3 separate regions of the Homo sapiens genome follow, and regions 2 and 3 are each linked to region 1. The links are contacts of gene promoters, found by promoter capture Hi-C in blood cells and fetal thymus (Javierre and others, 2016). All regions are on one chromosome and are shown on one strand. The core of a region is centred on a gene start or on the middle of the fragment in contact, and the rest is flanking DNA. Distances in the headings are between cores, read along the strand shown.

Region 1 (2,700 bases), core at 115-2,614:
CGTCCCCCAAAAAAGAACTGAAGCATTTAGAATCATAGTGGCAGTGGTGGTGGTGGTGATGGTGATGGTGATGGTGATAATGATGGTGATGGGATGGTGACGGTCATGGTGATTTTGGTAGTGGGAGTATTGGTGTGGCATTTCAGCAAATGTTGTTTTCATTTGTTTTAACCATCAGCCAAGGAACAAAGCAATCTGTCTCTTCAATATAGTTACACAGGTGACTAAGTGTCACCCGCTTCCACCTTCTCTAATCAAGGAAATGGTGACGATCAGGTTACTATAGATTCCTTATAAGGTGCCTTCATAATGGATAACTGTAGCCATTTTATGTAAGCATTGTCCTGTGATTAAAAAAAAAAAAAGATTCCAGTATGCTTTTGAAAAATGTGGGTGGGGGAGAGAGTTTTAATATGCTGCATTCAAGATTTGACCTATGGATTTAGATTCTAGCAATTCATGAGGTTGTCTTAATCTAAAGCTTTCTGGTGATAGATGTTTGAGAAGCTAGGATTATATTAACTAGTCATGTTGAAACTACAGATTTAACTTTAAAAAATTATTTTAAACTTACTATAATACCCATATTCCAATACACATTATTAATGTTAGCTATCATCTCACCATTTCCTTTTTTACTTATTTTCAATTTTTTTTGAAAATAAGTAGTTGACCTTTCTCTTTGAATCTTTACATCATTCAATCCCAAGATTCCTTATTGCATACTAATTTCCTGCCGCCAAGAAATCTCTGTTTCATGCCCTAAGCCAGAGTATGCCCATTTGCAGTGATTATGTTTCTCATAATCCAATTCATATTGTCCTTATTTAAAATGTACAATGTCTAGTCTCAACCTCATACCTGCAAAGATATCACAATATTTTTGTTAGCATGTTCCTTACCACAGTTCTTGGATTTCTACCAAAACAAAGTTTCTACAAAACTTCCTGTGGTCATCCTTCTTAGCCTTTGCTGCCCCAGTTTCCTTAATTCTTATTAAAGTTCTAGCTCATTTATCAGTGGATTAAGCAATGAACGGTAATTAACATTGTGGACCCATTCAAGGCTGTTTTGCCATCATTTTTTGGAATACCTTAAAAAGACTAAACTTTGTGATAGGCTGTATAAGAATGCAAAGGTAAAGAAATGCAGATGGGAGTGTAAGTGAAAACATGCAGTACTGACCTTCCTGATTGCTCATTACAGGAGACCAAGACACATTCCACCCCAGTGGGGGGTCCCATACCACTCATGGATCTGAATCAGATGGTGAGTTCAAAACTGCTTTAGTCATTTACTGTTATAATCATTGAGCCTAATGATGACTACCAACGAAGTATGAGTCAGTGTCTCCAGAGAAGTGGTTCTCAAACCTTCTTAGCATACATCACAATTGCAGGGAGGGCTTATTAAACCACAATGCTGGACCCCACCCTTAAGGTTCCTGATTCAGTAGGTCTGGGGTGGAGCCCAAGCATTTGCATTTCTAATCAGTTCCCTGGTAATACTGACACTGCTGGGACAGGGATTGCACTTTGAGAGCTACTGCTCTGGAGGAAAGCCTTGCATCTGAAAGCCTCAGGAAGAATTCAAGCAGTGTCCCAATTTAACCTTGCACTACACCAGAGTGATTAAGAGCTTGAGCTTTGTAGCAAAAATGGCCTGAGTTCGATTCCAGCCCTCCGCATATTAACTGAGCAAGATGCTTTAAAGGGTCTGAGACAACATTTCTCAACTAATAAACTTGGAATAATAACAATTGTCACAGGACATTGTTTCAAAGACTAAATGATAGAATACATGTAAAGCATTTAGCATAATCCTGGCACATGATATCATCACTGGTATTTGTTGGGAATTTACTGTGTGCCAGCAGCATCTTTCTAAACACTTTACATGTATTAGGTTGGGCCAAATGGAACTGCCATTATTGTAGGTCAAGAACAGGTCAATATCGGCCAGGCACGGTGGCTCACACCTGTAATCCCAGCACTTTAGGAGGCCGAGGCAGGTGGATCACGAGGTCAGGAGTTCGAGACCAGCCTGGCCAACCCTGTCTCTACTAAAAATACAAAAATTAGCCGGGCGTGGTCCTGCGCACCTGTAATCCCAGCTACTCAGGAGGCTGAGGCAGGAGAATTGCTCGGACCTGGCAGGCAGAGTTTGCAGTGAGCCAAGATTGCACCACTGCACTCCAGCCTGGGTGACAGAGCAAGACTCTGTCTCAAAAAAAACCAAAAAACAAAAAACAAAAAAACAGGTTAATATCAGCAAATTCATAGAGTTTATCTAGTATGAACTCATTCAGTCATCCTATAAACTCTGTGACATAGGTAAGTACTATTATTATCCCCATGTTACAGATGAGGAAACTAAGGCTCAGAGAAGGTAAGTAACTTGGCAGAGTTGACAGGACCAGAGAGTGATGGAGCCACCTTTCAAGCCTGGAGGGCCTTGTATTACTTCTCATAGCACAGTCTGGAGAAGGCATTCCATAATGACCATAATTACTCCCAGGCATGAATTCTTAAATAGACTCCTGTTTGTTGTGATTCAGATCACACCCCTACAAACCTTACCCCAGACTGCAAAAGTCTGACATGAGGTAGGTTTACTAATTACTTCTACTGCTGGGCTACTGGGAGGTTCTGCCAGTGCTGCCTTACTGTGGTCTCCCTGAACATCATAAATCCAGGTGAC
Region 2 (2,700 bases), core at 131-2,630, 230 kb before region 1:
TCTACGTAAATAAACCAGAAAATCTAGAAGAAATGGATAAATTCCTCGACACATACACCCTCCCAAGACTAAACCAGGAAGAACTTGAATCTCTGAATAAACCAATAACAGGCTCTGAAATTGAGGCAATAATTAATAGCTTACCAACTAAAAAAAGTCCAGGACCAGATGGATTCACAGCCGAATTCTACCAGAGGTACAAGGAGGAGCTGTTACCATTCCTTCTGAAACTATTCCAATCAATAGAAAAAGAGGGAATCCTCCCTAACTCATTTTATGAGGCCAGCATCATCCTGATACCAAAGCCGGGCAGAGACACAACAAAAAAAGAGAATTTTAGACCAATATCCCTGATGAACATCGATGCAAACATCCTCAATAACATACTGGCAAACCAAATCCAGCAGCACATCAAAAAGCTTATCCACCACGACGAAGTTGGCTTCATCCCTGGGATGCAAGGGTGGTTCAACATACGAAAATCAATAAACTTAATCCCGCATGTAAACAGAACCAAAGACAAAAACCACATGGTTATCTCAGTAGATGCAGAAAAGGCCTTTGACAAAATTCAACAACACTTCATGCTAAAAACTCTCAATAAATTAGGTATTGATGGGACGTATCTCAAAATAATAAGACCTATTTTTGACAAACCCACAGCTGATATCATACTGAATAGGCAAAAACTGGAAGCATTGCCTTTGAAAACTGGCACAAGGCAGAGATGCTCTCTCTCACCACTCCTATTCAACATAGTGTTGGAAGTTCTGGCGAGGGCAATCAGGCAGGAGAAAGAAATAAAGGGTATTCAATTAGGAAAAGAAGAAGTCAAATTGTCCCTGTTTGCAGATGACATGATTGTATATCTAGAAAACCCCATTGTCTCAGCCCAAAATCTCCTTAAGCTGATAGGCAACTTCAGCAAAGTCTCAGAATACACAATCAATGTGCAAAAATCACAATCATTCTTATACACCAATAACAGACAAACAGAGAGCCAAATCATGAGTGAACTCCCATTCACAATTGCTTCAAAGAGAATAAAATACCTAGGAATCCAACTTACAAGGGAGGTGAAGGACTTCTTCAAGGAGAACTACAAACCACTGCTCGATGAAATAAAAGAGAATACAAACAAATGGAAGAACATTCCATGGTCATGGGTAGGAAGAATCGATATTGTGAAAATGGCTATACTGCCCAAGGTAATTTATAGATTCAATGCCATCCCCATCAAGCTACCAATGAGTTTCTTCAAAGAATTGGAAAAAACTATTTTAAAGTTCATATGGAACCAAAAAAGAACCCGCATTGCCAAGTCAATCCTAAGCCAAAAGAACAAAGCTGGAGGCATCACGCTACCTGACTTCAAACTATAGTACAAGGCTACAGTAACCAAAACAGCATGGTACTGGTACCAAAACAGAGATATAGACCAATGGAACAGATATCTCTTTTAAATAGGGATGTCATGTATTGAGGGCCTGCTGATATATATCCCAGAGCTGGGCTAGAAAGTAAGGAATAATGTGATCTAATATTATTACCTGTTTCCACTCTCCTCCTCCCCTCAAGATCATGTTCGTTATCATATGAGGTAGGAAGTACAACAGACATTAAATAACTTCTTGCAATCAGGAAAGAAAGCCCTTTTTCCCCACCATGATATAAAGGATCAAAACATGTACCTCATCAGAATTTCTTCAAACTTGCTTCAAAAAGGTGGTATGTTTAATTATTCTTGGCAAACATAAAAGATAATTGACACAGAACTCCATACCATTTTTTCAAACGAAATTTTTATTTATTTTCTCTTATCTAGCTATGTTCACTTTGGAAAATGCACAATGATTTTATTTTTCTGTAACCGCCTTGGTCTAAAGCTGCTTTTTTAGTAACATTTTTCTTTTTCTATTTCTAGCAAATGCCAGATGTTAATGTAAGCTGGGATGGAGAGGGCCCAAAGCAACTGCCATTTATTGACATTTCAGTGGCTGTGGCAACAGATAAAGGCTTACTTACTCCAATCATAAAAGATGCTGCTGCTAAAGGTATCCAGGAAATTGCTGACTCTGTAAAGGTATGTCTTAAGAAAGAGTGTGCTTTCAAAATGTTAGCATATACTTTTGGATAATTACTTTCTGATAAAGTTGTGACGTAATCTAGTCAGACTGTGATTTTTGTGTGTGTGAAGGGGAGAGTTATTTCATCAAGTGATTGTCACATATATATAGGTTTTTAAAGTTTTTATCCAAGTATGACCCATTGTAAGAAAATTTAATATTCAAAAATTAAGAGATAATATATAAACAAATTAGGGAACAACTTCATGCTAAAGACAAGCTTTATTTTCCAAAGTCCAGAATTCAGCCATAAAGATGCTATATCAGGTAGGTTTTAAAGTTGAAGTTAAGCTGAAACTGTATTTCTATGGACCTCAATATTAATAACATTTTATTCTTAAAGTGTATTTACTTCTTCTCTAAAATTGAGACCATTAAAAGAACTTAGCGGCCAGGCGCGGTGTCTCACGCCTGTAATGCCAGCGCTTTGGGAGGCCGAGGTGGGTGGATCCCGAGGTCAGGAGATTGAGACCAACCTGGCCAACGTGGTGTAACCCCATCTCTACTAAAAATACGAAAATTAGCTGAGTGTGGTGGCGCGTGCCTGTAATTCCAGCTACTCGGGAGGCTGAGG
Region 3 (2,895 bases), core at 129-2,628, 250 kb before region 1:
TTTGTTTTGGTGGAGTTAGTAATGTTTGAAGCTTATTGTCAGGACTTAGAAGCCATGTAGGTATTGGGATCAATGAGATGAAGATGTATCTCAGGAGATAGTTGGGGATTAGAGAGGTAGATTTGGTAGATAATAAAGCAATAGTTATAATTGAGATCATCAATAGGGAAACTAGAGGTTAAAATCCTTGAGTTGGAGGATACCTGGGAAATGTGGGAAAAGTCAAGGATGGTAGGATCTAAGAAAAGCCTCTTAAATTTGGTAATATGGTGTTCAGTAGTGTGACAGCAGTAAAATAAAGAAATAAAGGTTTCTTCCTTCCTTTTCTTTCCATGTGTGCTTAATACATATATGATGCGCAAATATCTTTTTTTAAACCTGAGTTGAAAGTTATAATATTAATGAAACATTTCTTAAGAACAAAATGGTATTATCTCCTGAATACCATAAGGAAGCAGTATTAAAGAGTTAGGCTTTTAGTATTATTGCCATCTTTTCTACCCTGTTACCCTTTTCTCTTCCCTGCCTTTATTCCTTAACTCTCCACGAGAAAGGCATCAGCCTTTGGTCTTCAAAATAAGAACTAGTACAAAAGATTTCATGAGAAAAATGGATCCTGAAAGCATATATTATTGAGGATTTTTGCTTTTCTATACTGCTAAAAATGCCTGCATTTTAAGTTTATCATTAAGGTGAGCTTTGGAAAAAATTTTAGCCTAATGTCGTCTTCTGCTATGGTTGAAAAATTGCAGGCTTTGGCATAGCTGTCCCCAAAATATCTTAGCACACTTTTTTATTTTTTAACGTTTTGAATTTTTTTTTCTTTAAGAGAGAGACAGGCTCTCACTCTGTCACCCAGGTTGGGGTGCTGTGGTGTATTCATAGCTCACTGCAGCTTTGAACTCCTAGGCTGAAGTGGTCCTATCACCTCAACCTCCCAAATAGTTGGGACTACAGGTGTGCCACCATGCCTGGCTAAATTTTTAAAACAGTTTTGTAGAGACGGTTTCTCACTAGGTTGCCCAGGCTGGTCTCAAGCTCTTGGCCTCAGGTGACCCTCCCACCTCAGCCTCTCGAAGTGCTGGGAATGCAGACGTGAGCCACTGTGCCCAGCCAACACACGTTCTTGACACGGTGAGGACATGCTCCATACCATGTCCACTAAAAGTCTGGGTAGAAAAATCAGTTCCAAATGCTGAAGGAAATGCCTCCAGCCCACTGTATTTGTGAAGAAAATCTTGGGTATCAGGGCTGCTATTTTAATTTTGCCTTAAAACAAGCATTGCTCAGAATACATGTTGTACCAAAGAATATAGACTTGACTTTGCTTGTACATGTGACTGTTTTAAGAAAGCAGTGTCGAGGCCACAATTAGAAGCAGAACACATTTAGTTTCTTTGCCTGCAGCCCCAATGTCTTTGGTACATCTGTGTCCTAAATCATAGTTGTAGTAATGTTTGTATTCATCACACAGCATCAAAAATTAGGTAAGTATGACAGGCAAGTGCCTAGTGTGTTTTAGTGGTATTTTCAAAATGAATTCATGTCACACCCAAATGAATTGCTCTCTCAGGGAACCCAGTAGAGAAGGTTGTACCTGAGTTAACTTCCAGAGCATCCTCTGCCTATCTGCCTATTTCTGCCAGTGGCCAGAATGAATTTGTGTGGTATATTTTTCTCCTAATTTTTATAGCTTTTAATGTCTACCTAATGCTCCAAGTTTAGTCTGATTATTTAATGTGCAGAAATCATTAAAACCATTTTCTGCCTCACAAAAAACTAAATCATTGGCTGTTACTAAACAATAATTAAGATTTATACTTCATAGGTATGTAAGTATAAAATCAGCAATAAAAAGACCAGGTGCAGTGACTCACACCTGTAATCCCAGTGCTTTGGGAGACCAAGGCTGGCGAATCACTTGAGGCCAGGAGTTTGAGACCAGTCTGGCCAACATGGTAAAACCCCATCTCTACTAAAAATATAAAAATTAGCCAGGCGTGGTGATGCACACCTGTAATCTCAGCTACTAAAGAGGCTGAGGCATGAGAATCTCTTGAACCCTGGAGGCGGTGGTTGCAGTGAGCTGAGATCGCGCCACTGCACTCCAGCCTGGGTGACAGAGTGAGACTCTTTAAAAAATAAAAAAAAAATAAAATCAGCAATACAAGTTTTTGTGAGCAAGAAGAAGCAATTTTGTTCTTGCTTCTTTATGATTAACCTACCCAAGAACCTTAATTACTACAGAGATAAAACTAAACTGCTTTTTAAAAAATAAAGTAGCAGTAATAGTTATGCTAAATATGTAATATTAGCATAACTAATATTAGCTATTAGCATAACTAATATTAGCTATTAGCATAACTAATATTAGCTAGCTATTAGCATATTATTAGCATAACTAAATATTACATATTACTAAATATGCTAATAAGTAATAGTTATGCTAAAAATGTGTCAATTTAGTGTCAGCAACCTTTTTTTTAAATAGATGTATTCGGGCATTAACGATACAGATTTTTGCACCCCAGTTAGACTGTTCCTGCTTGTGTTGATATTCTATTATTGCATAACAAGTTACAGTAAACTTACCAGCTTAAAATAATACCTGTTTGTTTTCTAACAGTTCAATAGGTTAGAAGTCCTGGCATAGCATGGCCAGGTTCTGAACTCATGGTCTCACAAGGCTGAAATCAAAGTGTTGGCCAAGGCTGGGGACTCATGTGAAGCTTGGGGTCCTCTTCCAAGCTCATGTGGTTGTTGACAGAATGCAGTTCCTTGGGACTGTAGGACTGTGGCCCTTGTTTTCTTTCTAGCTCTCAGCCAAGAACCACTGACAGCTCCCAGAGGCCACGTGCAGGGCCTTGCCATGCGTGGTCTCCATAGGCGGTTCAC

Evidence for each region. The method cuts DNA at HindIII sites, captures the fragments that hold promoters and counts their contacts. A CHiCAGO score of 5 or more calls a contact.
Region 2: a contact is called between a fragment that was not itself captured here and the fragment with the promoter of CD44-AS1 in region 1, in 1 of 17 cell types (activated CD4 T cells). The highest score is 5.4, in activated CD4 T cells.
Region 3: a contact is called between a fragment that was not itself captured here and the fragment with the promoter of CD44-AS1 in region 1, in 1 of 17 cell types (activated CD4 T cells). The highest score is 5.6, in activated CD4 T cells.

The regions. Positions count from the first base shown.
Region 1 is chr11:35,213,646-35,216,345 of GRCh38, forward strand. CD44-AS1 (CD44 antisense RNA 1) reads right to left here and starts at 1,365. Exons shown (of 2, transcript NR_174965.1): 1 at 1,186-1,365. It overlaps CD44 (CD44 molecule (IN blood group)), which reads left to right. Exons shown (of 18, transcript NM_000610.4): 15 at 1,207-1,269. RefSeq lists an enhancer at 595-1,794. The HindIII fragment of the contact is 2,794 bases long and covers 480-2,700 here.
Region 2 is chr11:34,982,646-34,985,345 of GRCh38, forward strand. PDHX (pyruvate dehydrogenase complex component X) reads left to right here. Exons shown (of 11, transcript NM_003477.3): 9 at 1,925-2,083. Among named protein-coding and RNA genes, the nearest start is that of MIR1343, 42 kb to the left of the region's middle. The HindIII fragment of the contact is 1,927 bases long and covers 418-2,344 here.
Region 3 is chr11:34,962,465-34,965,359 of GRCh38, forward strand. The region is part of intron 5 of PDHX (pyruvate dehydrogenase complex component X); the gene reads left to right. Among named protein-coding and RNA genes, the nearest start is that of MIR1343, 22 kb to the left of the region's middle. The HindIII fragment of the contact is 2,698 bases long and covers 30-2,727 here.